Regions from separate parts of the Homo sapiens genome. Here all the other regions are linked to region 5. The links are contacts of gene promoters, found by promoter capture Hi-C in blood cells and fetal thymus (Javierre and others, 2016). All regions are on one chromosome and are shown on one strand. The core of a region is centred on a gene start or on the middle of the fragment in contact, and the rest is flanking DNA. Distances in the headings are between cores, read along the strand shown.

The links. Contacts are between HindIII fragments. The CHiCAGO score rates a contact against its expected background, and 5 or more counts as called.
Region 1: a contact is called between the fragment with the promoter of ATP6V1C2 here and the fragment with the promoter of RRM2 in region 5, in 2 of 17 cell types (M0 macrophages and total B cells). The highest score is 5.5, in M0 macrophages.
Region 2: a contact is called between a fragment that was not itself captured here and the fragment with the promoter of RRM2 in region 5, in 11 of 17 cell types (naive CD8 T cells, total CD8 T cells, fetal thymus and 8 more). The highest score is 10.9, in naive CD8 T cells.
Region 3: a fragment that was not itself captured here is called in contact with the fragment with the promoter of RRM2 in region 5 in 1 of 17 cell types (activated CD4 T cells); the score reaches 5.1 in activated CD4 T cells.
Region 4: a fragment that was not itself captured here is called in contact with the fragment with the promoter of RRM2 in region 5 in 16 of 17 cell types (naive CD8 T cells, endothelial precursors, total CD8 T cells and 13 more); the score reaches 28.7 in naive CD8 T cells.

Annotation. Positions count from the first base shown.
Region 1 is chr2:10,720,378-10,723,077 of GRCh38, forward strand. ATP6V1C2 (ATPase H+ transporting V1 subunit C2) reads left to right here and starts at 1,253. Exons shown (of 14, transcript NM_001039362.2): 1 at 1,253-1,354; 2 at 2,447-2,601. The coding sequence starts at 2,473. The HindIII fragment of the contact is 5,016 bases long and covers 737-2,700 here.
Region 2 is chr2:10,682,224-10,684,923 of GRCh38, forward strand. It overlaps NOL10 (nucleolar protein 10), which reads right to left. Exons shown (of 21, transcript NM_024894.4): 2 at 2,344-2,389. Among named protein-coding and RNA genes, the nearest start is that of NOL10, 6.4 kb to the right of the region's middle. The HindIII fragment of the contact is 4,977 bases long and covers 1-2,700 here.
Region 3 is chr2:10,643,368-10,646,067 of GRCh38, forward strand. It overlaps NOL10 (nucleolar protein 10), which reads right to left. Exons shown (of 21, transcript NM_024894.4): 13 at 953-1,005. Among named protein-coding and RNA genes, the nearest start is that of NOL10, 45 kb to the right of the region's middle. The HindIII fragment of the contact is 6,652 bases long and covers 1-2,700 here.
Region 4 is chr2:10,662,574-10,665,280 of GRCh38, forward strand. It overlaps NOL10 (nucleolar protein 10), which reads right to left. Exons shown (of 21, transcript NM_024894.4): 9 at 386-471. Among named protein-coding and RNA genes, the nearest start is that of NOL10, 26 kb to the right of the region's middle. The HindIII fragment of the contact is 3,499 bases long and covers 1-2,707 here.
Region 5 is chr2:10,121,341-10,124,040 of GRCh38, forward strand. RRM2 (ribonucleotide reductase regulatory subunit M2) reads left to right here and starts at 1,399. Exons shown (of 10, transcript NM_001034.4): 1 at 1,399-1,557; 2 at 1,643-1,717; 3 at 2,047-2,190; 4 at 2,396-2,512. The coding sequence starts at 1,459. RefSeq lists enhancers at 1-72, 121-676, 434-503, 524-633 and silencers at 854-1,453, 860-1,360. The HindIII fragment of the contact is 3,317 bases long and covers 31-2,700 here.

The DNA of each region.
Region 1 (2,700 bases), core at 3-2,502, 600 kb after region 5:
GGGCCACTCCTTCCCTGGAATAGCCACTTAATGTCCTCAAACATACCGGAGTTTCCCCATCCCTTGGTTTCAGGTATCCTCCCTCAGGAAGATGTTGCAAGGACTGACTAATGCACATTAGTGTCCCAATAACGATGCCTGCTGCAGGTGCTGGGACTTCCAAGTCTAACCTAGGCTGGCAGTACGACCCCACTGTGATCTTAAAGCCACCTTTCTGTCCCGTCTCTGGGGCTTCCCATCCCACCCTATGTGATTACAGCTTAAGTCTCAGATGATGTCAAATCCTTCTGCCAAAGACCCTGATGCATTCACAAGAATGGGTTGATAGATAAGGCTAGTTTACACAGGAGGGGGAGTCCACGTTTAAGGAAGCAAGAACACCGTCTCCAATGCCCCCTCGAAGGACACTCTTGAGATCTTCATCTTTCCCAGAAACCACTGAAAACATCGCCCACATGGAAGGATGCTTTAAAGCCTTCTCCTTCGGTCCAGAGAAAATGAATTCTCCGAGTTTTCCTTTGGTTTTGTCTTGTTTTTAACCTTCACACGTTAATTTCCAGGGTTTCCCCCTCCTGGTTCCAGACAGCACCGATCATGAACTCATCTCTGATCGTCGTACGGTGAGTTGTAACCGCCCCCCCACCCCCCATCCACAGGGCAATTCGGAAGGTGGAGAGGGTGAGGTGGGAGTTTCCTGGGCAACCGGGCGCACACCCGCGCCCACACGGACAGGAAAAGCTTCGCTGTCTACGCAGGTGCGTCCCGAGCACCTGCGCACCTGTTGCGCGGCTCCCCACAGGTGGGCCCTGTCTCTTGCACTGGCCTGGAGACACCTGGGAGTAGGTGATTCCCCTGAGATCCGCGCATGTCTCTGTGAGGCGAGAGTGGGTGGGCAAGCGGGGCTGCGGCGGCCGCAGCGGGAGGGCGGGGTGGTCCCGAGCTCAGAGCCTTTTCCCGACTCCCACCCGGCTCAGCCGTCCACGCGTCCCGGACGCGGCAGCGCAGTCGTGCGGCAGGAGACCCCGTGGGACGCGCCGCAGAAGCCCCCAGGGCCCCGGCCCTCGCGCGTAGGGGACTGGAGACCCTGCGCGTCTCCTCCGCGCCTTCCTGCCCGGCGCCTGCACCTGCTCCCCGGCTCTCGGGCCCCTGGCTGGAGCGAGGCGGGAGGCGGACGGCCCGTATGCAAATATCCTGCGGGGCCGGGGCCGCCTCCAGAGCCCGGGATAAAAGGCGGGGCGGGGCGCGGGGCAGCGAAGCCGCTGCCTCCCGGGAGCCGGCAGAGCGCTCCGGCCCCGCACCCGCCGCCCGTCGCCCGCAGCCCCCTACCGCGCGGCCCGCGCCCCGCCGGCTCCCGGTAAGGACGCACCGCGGAGCGGGGACCCGAGGCAGGGGCGGGGTGGGGACACAGGCACGGGGTCCGGCTGCGCACCAGCCTGCGCTTTCCCATTGGAAACGTGGGCAGCGTGCACCTCCGCGCGCTTCCCCGCGGCCGGGCTGGTAGCATCTCCGCAGGTGCTGCGGCGGGCCAGTTCGTCCCCAGGCCATGGGCAGTCAAGGCGGAAAGGAGCTGCGTTGGGTCTGCGCGGGGTTAGGAGAGAACAAAATGCCCTCGGATTGGAGCGGGACCGGGAGTCCGAAAGGAAGAGGTTCCACCAGGGGTCTCTGGCTCCTCAGAGCTTATCCTGCTTTCCCCCAGCCGTCCGGAGACGCCGCGGGGAGGCAAGCGGAAAGGGGGAACCTGGCCGAGGGGGAAAGGTGCGGGTGTGGACACCTGTGAAGGAGCAGCACGAATCGAATCGGCCGTAGAGGCTGCAGACGCGGCCGCGAAACCACCGGCCACGCCGGGCAAGGGACCCAGCACTGCTGAGCGGGCACCTCGCCTAGTGGAAAAAAGACTTTAGTAGTTCCCCTCACCCCCTACTACTTTTTTTTTTCTTATTTAAAAAAATCCTCTGAAGTCTATTTTTAAAGCTAATACCAATCACAAGGTTGGCCAGTTTGACCTGCGGTTTGACCTGGTAGCCTGTTGTGAAAATCCCTTCCTCATCCCACGCCTTCCTCCACCCCATCCTGCATCCCAGAAGATGCAGTGTGGAAGGAAGACAAATATTCCCCCAGAAGGTGTCCGCCTCCAGCTTACTGTCCTCCCGTTTTATGATGCCTGATAGGGGTTGTTCACTGAGGTGGAGAGAAAGAAAGGAACCTCTCCCTCCTCCTCTGCTCCTGAAAACCAGCCAGAACCACTGCAGGGACCAAGGAGCTTTGGAGTTTCGGGAACACCTGAGGGCTGCCCAGGTGGAGATAAGAGCTTTGCTTTTGCAAATGGATGTCCTTGGAGCTCATCCTAGAAAGGATGAATTGGAGGGTAGGGAGTGGTGAGGCGGGGATATCTGACACATCTCTCCTTCTGTTTCTGTTTGTGTATGTTTGTCCTGGTTCTGGGCAGTCACTGGGTAAGAGAAGACTGGAAGCATGTCGGAGTTTTGGTTAATTTCTGCCCCTGGCGATAAGGAAAATTTGCAAGCTCTGGAGAGGATGAATACTGTAACCTCCAAGTCCAACCTGTCTTATAATACCAAATTCGCTATTCCTGACTTCAAGGTAAAATTCTTGGGGAGGAGTGAAAAAGGGATGGATTGGTCAGGGGGAGACAGGAGAGGGAGACAGGTTGCTACCTCAGGAAGCCAAGGAGAAAGTATC
Region 2 (2,700 bases), core at 143-2,642, 560 kb after region 5:
AACCATTAAACAGCAGAGGTTTTTTCCTTAGCTCATACGTTGTTTTTCTAAGCTAAGTATTTCATTTTTACTTTTCAAGAATAAAAAAAGTAGCATCATTAATTGAAAAAAAATTTTCCACAACAGTGTATCAAACATCCAGTGTTACAGGAGGAAGAGCATAAACATTAAACCACTTTTTTTTTTTTTTTTTTGAGACAGGGTCTCACTCTGTCACCCAGACTGGAGTGCAGTGGCACAATCATGGCTCACTGCAGCCTCAACCTCCCGGGCTGAAGCGATCCTCACACCTCAGCCCCCCCAAATAGCTAGGACTACAGGCGCATGCCACTGCACCCAGGTATTTTTGTATTTTTTGTAGAGATGGGGTTTCGCCACGTTGCCCAGGCTGGTCTCAAACTTCTAGGGCCAAGCAATCCTCACACTTCAGCCTCCCAAACTTCTGGGATTGCAGGAGTGAGCCACCGCACTGGGCCCCTAAACCACTATTACTACTCAATCATGGCAAAGACAAAAATCCAACTTTTTTTTCTCCTAAGTAACAGGTTTAAGCCCCCAAACTCTCCAAACTCTTTTTTTTTGAGACAAGTCTCACCTGTTGTCCAAGCTGGAGTGCAGTGGCACAATCCTGGCTCACAGCAACCTCCACCTCCCAGGTTCAAGCAATTCTCCTGCCTCAGCTTCCCAAGTAGCTGGGGCTACAGGCACGCACCACCATGCCTGGCTAATTTTTGTATTTTTAGTAGAGACGGGGTTTCACTACGTTGGCCAGGCTGGTCTTGAACTCCTGACCTCATGATCTGCCCGCCTGGGCCTTCCAAAGTGCTGGGATTACAGGCATAAGCCACTGTGCCTGACCCAACCTCTTAAGTTTATATAAGAAACTGCTACGAAGCTGACTTATACCTCTTTTGGAACCAATTATCTGCAGACAAGAGGAAACCCCTTTGATACCTTAGGTTTTTAAAGAGTAAGTTAAACAAAATATATGGGAAAATAAATTTTCTTTCATATGTGACAAGCTATAATGAAGAAAATATAATGAAAACTTGTGCACCAAAATTATTTAAGTTAGAAATTTTTCTTACAATTTCTTGCTGCCGTAAATTTAAAAGAACCAACATCTTCTGCAATCACCTTTAACTGTTCAGATTCATAAACCCTACATGTAAAATTCCTTTCTTCAAGAAATGCTCATTGTCTCTGTATCTCAAACACTGATAAATGGATTTAATTTACACGATAAGATTTTGATACACAAGAGAGCAAAGCAATTAGGGACCTGTTAGGAGAGACAGTCCTCCTTGGACCTGCATGCTTACTGGGTATGGCGAGATTGCAAGACCCCAGCCACTCTTACCTGAGCCATTTCTCAGGGTTGTTTACACTGCTGAGAACCTTGATAGACAGGTAACCTGTCCCTTCTGGACAAAACACAGGTTTGCTTACTGCTTGCCAGAAAAGCAGTGGACTTCCCAAGCTGTGTTGCTCGGCCACAACGCAAATCCACTGTGTGCCAAGCATCCACCTGGACTGTGCTAAGTGTCCCCAGGAGACCCAAGAGGGGAACTGGCACAAATATGCTGATGTTCATGCTATCTACTGTGCTGTGAGTAATAACATCTGCATTTCTAGCCCAGGAGTCTTGCGTCTACTATTGTTATCCATGAAACGGTAACAGGCTAACTTATTAGTTAATAAGGTAAAATCAAATCCCATACCCACCAGGAACATACCAACCACAACAAAAAGTTTCTTAAGAAGGAGAAAGGCGGCCGGACGCGGTGGCTCACACCTGTAATCCCAGCACTTTGGGAGGCCAAGGCAGGTGGATCACCTGAGGTCGCAAGTTCGAGACCAGCCTGACCAACATGGAGAAACCCCATCTCTACTAAAAATACAAAAAAAATTAGCCGGGCGTGGTGGCTTGTAATCCCAGCTACTCAGGAGGCTGAGGCAGGAGAACTGCTTGAATCCAGGAGGTGGAGGTTGCAGTGAGCCGAGGTCACACCATTGCACTCCAGCCTGGGCAATAAGAGTGAAACTCCATCTCAAAAAAAAAAAAAAAGGAGAAGAGCTGCGTACAGTGGCTCATGCCTGTAATCCCAAAACTTTGGGAGGCCAAGGTGGGAGGTCTGCTCAAGCCCAGGAGTTAGAGACCAGTCTGGGCAACACAGTGAGACCCCATGTCAAAGGAAAAAAAAGAAAAGGGACAAGAGCATTCATTTTCCACTACATGTTACCGCATTCTTATAAATCCTCACTTATATATAACAGCAAATGAGTAAAAGCATTAGAACATGGATCACTAACGCAGCTGAAGTGGGAAAAAACAATACTCACCTACATCTTTCTTCTGTAGCGCTCTCTTCTTCCTATCAGAAAGCCACTTAAAGAAAATGAAGAGAGTTTATTTTAAAACAAATTTAGCTAAATTGTTTTTCGGCTTGCAAAATCAATACATGCTTATATTTAAAAATTCAAACTTCATAGGAATATATAACATAGGAAGCAAAAAATATTCTCTAATCCTAACTCTACTCGTAACGTATTAAATATCTCCTGGATTTTTTTTCTTGTGTATACTTACATACATTAGATAATTTCTTTTATTTTTACTTTTTTAGAGACAGGGTCTCATGCTTGCCCAGTCTATAGTACAATGATGCGATGTGACTGTAGCTCACCGAAGGCTCAAAC
Region 3 (2,700 bases), core at 63-2,562, 520 kb after region 5:
ATCTTCAGTACCCCTCACTCTACTCTCTTCTCAAATCTCAGGTAAGGGAGATGTCTGCTGAGTATAAAGTAATCTAATGCCAACTTTATACTATGTGTTTTTCTGCTTATGAAATCGTATTTCCTTGCTTCATTTTTTACTATAAACTTAAAGGGAAGGGTGGGAGCTTCTGGCTATTTAAGAGAAGAATTATTTAAGGAGGGAAAAAAAGGTTTTTTTGGCAAACTACATGTCATCCCTGATCAGGATGATCTATGATAATTTATATATGTAACTTATTTTTAAAAGAAACAAACTATAGTGAGATGACTTGAAGAGTAATAGACTTTTCAGAATTAGACCTCCGGATCACTAACAGCTGAAAGTTTAAGATTCTGAAATACTTGGAAACAAAAAATAAATGTAAATCAGAAGAATAAATACTAATTTATAATGTCTGTTTTAACATGATATTAAACAGTTCCCATAAAAGAATGTTTGAGCATGAATTGACTGGCTCCAGAAAGCAAATTCAACCCAAAAGTGAGTCCACTGTGTCTAATGTACACAGCCACATGTAGACCCAGGTTCCTCAATACATCCAATTTAAAAAGTATCTTTGGCCGGGAGTGGTGGCTCACACCTGTAATCCCAGCACTTTGGGAGGCCCAGGCAGGAGGATCACTTGAGGTCATGAGTTCAAGACCACCCCAGCCAACATGGCAAAACCCCGTCTCTACCAAAAATACAAAAATTAGCCAGGTGTGGTAGCGTACACCTGTAATCCCAGCTACAGGAGGTTGAGGTAGGAGAATCACTTGAACCCAGGAGGCAGAGGTTGCAGTGGGCTGAGGCTGCACCACTGCACCCCAGCATCGGTGATCGCCAGACTCCGTCTCAAAAAATTAAATAAATAATAAAAAGTATCTTTGCTTGTCCTATTTTTACTGAAACTCCTCTTTGTATTACTTACTGGAATGTAATAGATGCCCATCTTGGGGGTTTCATTGGCCGTCAGAAGCATGCCTAAAAATAAATACAATGAAAAAGGTCAATGCATAGGAAAAAGAAAGTACCCTTTTCTATTTGCTTTCCATTCTGAAATGCCTGAGGAACTTCTGTTAGTCAGTGAACCAAAGTATAGTATTTCCCACAAAATGTCACAGCAAATTCCTAACTTTTACAAAACAAATTCGAATTTTCCAGAACAAATTTGCTTTGCTTTTGCAAAGCAAATTCCTAACTTTTACAAAACTGACTGCAAAACAAAATGTCTACATTTTGTTATCATCTACACCAGAAAGTCCTAGAGGGACTCTAACAGCCCTGACTACAGCACAGTCACTCCCTCACAGGGAATTATAACAGACTGAACCAACAGGGTGGTTAATAATTGAGTCTCCTTGGGATCAGCATATAAGAAAGCAAAACTGAAGAAAGAGATAACTTTCCGGCATTCAATAAAGGATTCTCTATAACCCCAGGAGCAACCTATAAGTACATTATTATTTGGTACTAAACTACTTAGTATCAAAGTATTCAAATATCTCGGTTTTGTTCCCTTTTCTCTGCCATTTTTGCAACATACTCCTTCCCCACAAGTGTTCTGAAGCAGCTCCAACATGGCAATATGCAAACATCAAAACTCCTCAGATCCCCTGCTCTGGACCACTGCACTTTAAATAAAACTGAAACCAGCAAGCCTTTGACCAGTCCTTCATAATCATCTAGGCACTTTCACATATACTATCTTAGTGAACATACAACAACCCTCTCAAAGAAGATGTATCATCAGCCCTATTTTACTGATCAGAAAATAAAGCTCAGAGGGACTGATGCCCCAGTCGTGAGAGAATGTTAAAGCTAAAGTCAAACTCAAGAGCGCCTGCTTTTAAATAAAGACTTCTACAGATCAGCTAAATAAGAATTCATTTTAAAAATCTATTTGTAAGATACAAGAGGAATCCACAGAGAGAAGACATTTAGATTATCAGATCACATAATGATAAATGAATATACCAAATGTTAAGGGCAATGATTAGATTCTGTTTTTAAAAATATTTTTTGCTGCCTTTCCTTTTATTAACACAAAAGTTTGTAAAAGTGATGATATTTGACTCTATTACAGAAATGAGATGCTGAGTGAATAGAGTCAATTACCACTCAAGCAGGAACTCAATACTATCTTTTTTTTTTTTTTTTTTGAGACAAGAGTCTTGCTCTGTTGCCCAGGCTGGAGTGCAGTGGCGTGGTCTCGGCTCACTGCAAGCTCCACCTCCTGGGTTCACGTCATTCTCCTGCCTCAGCCTCCCGAGTAGCTGGGACTACAGGCGCCCACCACGCCTGGCTAATTTTTTGTATTTTTAGTGGAGGGGGGTTTCACCATGTTAGCCAGGACAGTCTCAATCTCCTGACCTCATGATCCGCCCGCCTCGGCCTCCCAACATGCTGGGATTACAGGCATGAGCCACCGCATCTGGCCTCGATACTATCTTACCAAAACCACGTCTTGCCAATAACTCAGAAGTGTGAGCTAGCCCTGAACTGGGACCAACAGGTCACCAAAAATATATGCACACAAAACACACACACACACATACACACACACACACACACACACACCCCGTAAAAACATCTAAAAGCACCTAATGAAGTCTAAAAAAGCAAGAATAATGTCTAAATTAAACCAAAACAAAGTCAGAGCTGTTTTTCATAGCTTGT
Region 4 (2,707 bases), core at 204-2,703, 540 kb after region 5:
TTAGGCAAACAGGAACAAGAAAATATTAAAAAAACACTTGCTTCCTTCCACCTTAGAATTCAAAGCACACCTCTGTGGACTTTGTGGTGGACTCCTGGTTCTATCACTAGATTCTACAAAATTGGAATACAAATTCCTGTAGTGTAATTGTTTTAATAAAATCGTACAGCAACTAAAGAAATAAGGCCTTCTGTATAGTATTTTGGAAAGAAATTCTATCTGGCTTACTCACTAGTGAGCTTTTACAGGAGAGGATCTTTATGAAAAACAATCATGGAAAGTACAATTTCAGATATCCTGTAGCAATTTATTTGAATTTAATATAGACACATTACTTAAATTAAAAGTTGATGAACATTTACATTGCAAATTAATTTCTACTTACTCTGAATCTGCTGTGACACTGTTTAAGGCGCAGTCTAACAGGCCAACTCTGTTTCGAGTTCTTGGGTCCCAGCACTCCACTCTACCCTATGCAAATGAAAAACAATTTTAAATAAAAGCTGTAGAAGGCGGGGCATGGTGGCTCATGCCTGTAATCCCAGCACTTTGGGAGGCCGAGGCGGGCTGATCACCTGAAGCCAGGAGTTTGAGACTAGTCTGACTAACATGGCGAAACTCTGTTTCTACTAAAAATACAAAAAATTAGCTGGGTATGTGGTGCACGCCTGTAATCCCAGCTACTTGGGAGGCTAAGGCAGAAGAACTGCTTGAACCCGGGAGGTGGAGGTTGCAGTGAGCCGAGATTATGCCACTGCACACCAGTCTGAGCGACAGAGCAAGACTTCGTCTCAAAAAAAAAAAAAAAGCTGCTAAGAAATCCTTAAAACACATACAAAAATAAACCACATTAACATTGTTTATTTCATAGAAAAAGTCCTTATTTTTAAGAAATCCATTTTAAAGTATTTAGGGAAGAAATATCATAATGCCTGCAACTTATTTTCAAAAGGTTCAAAAAACATTTTTAATACATGTACATTTTTATGGGAAAAGAAAATGCAAAATATATATATCACTAAACTTTTACAAAGATGTGAACTTTTTAAAAATAAAAAGCTGGGGAAAATTTTTTTTAATGAAAAGAAGAATCCCGGCCAGGCGCGGTGGCCACGCCTGTAATCCCAGCACTTTGGGAGGCCAAGATGGGGAGATCACGAGGTCAGGAGATCGAGACCATCCTGGCTAACACAGTGAAACCCAGTCTCTACTAAAAAATACAAAAAATTAGCCGGGCATGGTGGCGGGCGCTTTTAGTCCCAGCTACTTGGGAGGCTGAGGCAGGAGAATGGCATGAACCCGGGAGGCTGGAGCTTGCAGTGAGCCGAGATCGCACCACTGCACTCCAGCCTGGGCGACAGAGCGAGACTCCGTCTCCAAAAAAAAAAAAAATACAAAATTAGCCAGGCATAGTGGCGCATGCCCGTAATCCCACACACTAGGAGGCTGAGGCAGGAGAATTGCTTGAACCCGGGAGGCAGAGGCTACAGCGAGCTGAGCGTGCCACTGCACTCCTGCCTAGGCAACAGAGAGAGACTCCGTCTAAAAAAAAAAAAAACCCAAAAAAACAGAACAGGCCGGGCATGGTGGCTTATGCCTGTAATCCCAGCACTTTTGAAGGCCGAGGTAGGTGGATCACCTGAGGTCAGGAGTTCGAGACCAGCCTGGCCAATGGTGAAACCCCGTCTCTACTAAAAATACAAAATTAGCTGGGCATGGTGGCAGGTGCTTGTAATCCCAGCTATTCGGGAGCCTGAGGCAAGAGAATCGCTTGAACCTGGGAGGCAGACATTGCGGTGAGCCGAGTCCAGCCTGGGAAACAAAGCAAGACTGTCTCAAAAAAAAACAGAATGGAGAAACTGTAGTACGTCCATTTAAACTGAGTATTAGCCATTACAAAGAATGATGTGAATATACATGTACTAGAATTGTGTCCACAAAAAAGCAATTTACTTTTTTAAATGAGGGGTCGTTGTTTGTGTGTTTGAGACAAGGTCTTGTTCAGTCGCCCAGCTGGAGTGCAGGGCACAATCACAGCGTATTGCAGCCTCCACCTTGTAGGCTCAATCCATCCTCTCACCTCAGCTTCCCCAGTAGCTGCATCTATGGTATGCACCACGCCTGTCTAATTTTTGGATTTTTGGTAGAGAAGAGGTGTCGCCATGTTGCCCAGGCTGGTCTCGAACTCCTGGACTCAAGCGTTCCACCCACTCGCACTTCCAAAGAGCTGGGATGACGGACGTGAGCCACCACACCCAGCCAACATTTGTGTTTTTAAAAAAATGCTTGTGCAAACAGAAAAACCTGAGAGGATACACAGCAAATTATTAACAGTATTTACCTAAGGAAACAGGAATAGGACAGGGTGGAAGGGAATTACACTTTTCACTTTGTGTTCTTGTCTATCATTTGATTTTGTAATGATAAAACAAAAACATAAACAAAGATGTTTTAAGATTGTTTAATATATTAACTACCTTAAAAGCAAACCCTTCAATATACTTAGGAGGTTCTGACCTCATTAATCTTTTAATATTATTACAAGTAGGTATGTTGCAAAGATGAATAATCGAAGGGAAACCTTTTTAAACTACAGCAGGTAATTCCAAATGGTCTAGTCTTCTATGTCTTCTCAAAATGAGTTAATAAATTTTATGGACATAAAAAAGAAAAGTTGCATTCCAAAAACACAAAATGGGTATGCAGA
Region 5 (2,700 bases), core at 149-2,648:
CTCAATAACAGCCCTGAGCGCAGCTGTTGAAGCTTTCTCAGGTTAATGATTTCTTTCTTGGATCTTAAAGTTTCTTTCTCTTCCTTTATTTTTGGCATTTTGCCCGTTGCAGGGCCTGGCAAATCAGAAAGCCACATAGAAAATTAAATGAAAGCTATTGCTAAGTTCCAGTCTCTACACCAGTGGAGTTTTCAAACTCCTCTTCAGCATATTTGACGCCCAATGAGTAGTACATTAATTCCTAGTCCTAAAATCATTCTGTGAACTTTCTCCCAGGAATTTTTGCTCAGTTTGCAATTAAAACAACTTTTTTTCTTCTCTTTTTAATGGCAGAGGCGGGGTCTCACTATGTTGCCCAGGATGGTCTCCAGCTCCTGGCCTCAAACAATCCTCCTGCCTTGGCCTCCCAAAGTGCTGGGATTACAGGCGTGAGCCACCGCGCCCAGCCACAGTTTGCAATTCTTAAGGCAAGGGTGACAATAGGGGTCAGGGGTCTGACAGGAGACAGGATTTCTGTGGAAAACTGCACCAAGGGCCTTCTCGCCATGTCCCGTAGTTTGAAGGTTTACAAAGGACTGCACATTTTACATGAGTCATCTCAACGAACGCTCTCCTCACCGCATTAACAGTCCACGCGGTTACGAGTCCCATTTTACTCACGGGGACACCGAATCTGTAAGAAGCCTGGTCGCTTGTCCCAGCAAAACGAGCCACGGGGCTCAGCGGCCCTAACTTTTAGGCTGTAGGGTCCTCGCCGACCACCCCGCCAAAATGTCAGGCCTCGGGGCCCTTGCACCCCCACCGCAGGGACACGGATCGAAAGGGTCGCAGCAACGCCTCCCCCGCACCCAGGAGCGTTTTCCAGGCCTTTGCACCAACCTCGTTGGCTAAGCCCCCTGCCCGGCGGCGGCCCGGCTGGGAGGAGGTGCTTTCGGGAGGCGGGGCCGCGGCCCGGGGATCCTCTCGCGCCCGCGGGCTCCAATCGCTGCTCCTCACGCAATCCTAAACGGTTCCCGGGCGAACCGGGGCCCGCGCGCGCCAAGGCCGCCGAGACCCTCAGGGGCTGCGGCCCTGGTCCCGCGGGACCTGTGGGGGCCTGGGCGGCGGCGCCCCCGACCCAGCCAGCGGACGGGCCGGGGGGGGAACCGGGAGGTCCCGGGGGGCGTCCACGGGGGTGTCCCCGGGGGTCTCCGGAAGGCGCCGGCGGAGGCTCCCGCGCTGCGCTTGAAAATCGCGCGCGGCCCCGCGGCCAGCCTGGGTAGGGGCAAGGCGCAGCCAATGGGAAGGGTCGGAGGCATGGCACAGCCAATGGGAAGGGCCGGGGCACCAAAGCCAATGGGAAGGGCCGGGAGCGCGCGGCGCGGGAGATTTAAAGGCTGCTGGAGTGAGGGGTCGCCCGTGCACCCTGTCCCAGCCGTCCTGTCCTGGCTGCTCGCTCTGCTTCGCTGCGCCTCCACTATGCTCTCCCTCCGTGTCCCGCTCGCGCCCATCACGGACCCGCAGCAGCTGCAGCTCTCGCCGCTGAAGGGGCTCAGCTTGGTCGACAAGGAGAACACGGTGAGCCCGCGGGGAGGGCGCTGCGGGCAGGGGAGGGAGGCAGGGAAAGCGAAGCCGCTCCTCACTCACACGCGTCTCCCCGCAGCCGCCGGCCCTGAGCGGGACCCGCGTCCTGGCCAGCAAGACCGCGAGGAGGATCTTCCAGGAGCCCACGGAGCCGGTGAGTGGCGGGCGTGGGGCAGAGGGGCCAGGGACGGCCTTGGGCGTCTTGGCGCCAAAGCCGCATTGTTTCCTCAGCTGTTCACACTCCCGCCCCGGCTCCTTTCCCGCCTAGGCGGCCCCTCCCCAGGGCTGCCTCCCGCGCCCCTCGGCCCATTTCCCGGTTCGGGCGTGCGCTCCTCTGCTGCGACCCACGGAGTGCGACGGGACAGCCACGTTTTCACATCGGGCCCCGTGAAATTGCCGCCAATGGAAAGGACTTGGTCCAGAAAAACGTTAGTTTCATATGGTTCGCCCGGTACTTAAATGTTTTATTTTCTCCCCCAACAGAAAACTAAAGCAGCTGCCCCCGGCGTGGAGGATGAGCCGCTGCTGAGAGAAAACCCCCGCCGCTTTGTCATCTTCCCCATCGAGTACCATGATATCTGGCAGATGTATAAGAAGGCAGAGGCTTCCTTTTGGACCGCCGAGGAGGTAATCGGAGGACCCCAGAAGACCCCTGCAGGGGTGACCGTCACGCCTCAGACATAAATGCACTTGGAGGTTCCCGTTGGCAAGGGGGGCTAACTGTGGGGCATAGTAAGTGGTGCCAGCATACTTAAAGTTTGAGTGCTCAGTGTGAGTCCTGTAGGCTTTACTCTCTTCCTTTTATGCTAAAATTGTGACTTCCGAACCTCAGGTGGACCTCTCCAAGGACATTCAGCACTGGGAATCCCTGAAACCCGAGGAGAGATATTTTATATCCCATGTTCTGGCTTTCTTTGCAGCAAGCGATGGCATAGTAAATGAAAACTTGGTGAGTTTCCAAAACATCTTTCATTCATTTGACGTTGACGATCTGAGGTCGAACTAGTTCGCTTTCCTCGTCTTGTATGTTTTTCCATGCTGAGTGCATCTGTGTGTGTAAGCTGGGTTTTATATTACATGGCATTTCCTGTTTTGTAACACTTTGCAGTTCTTTCTTATGGTATTTTCCCGACTCTA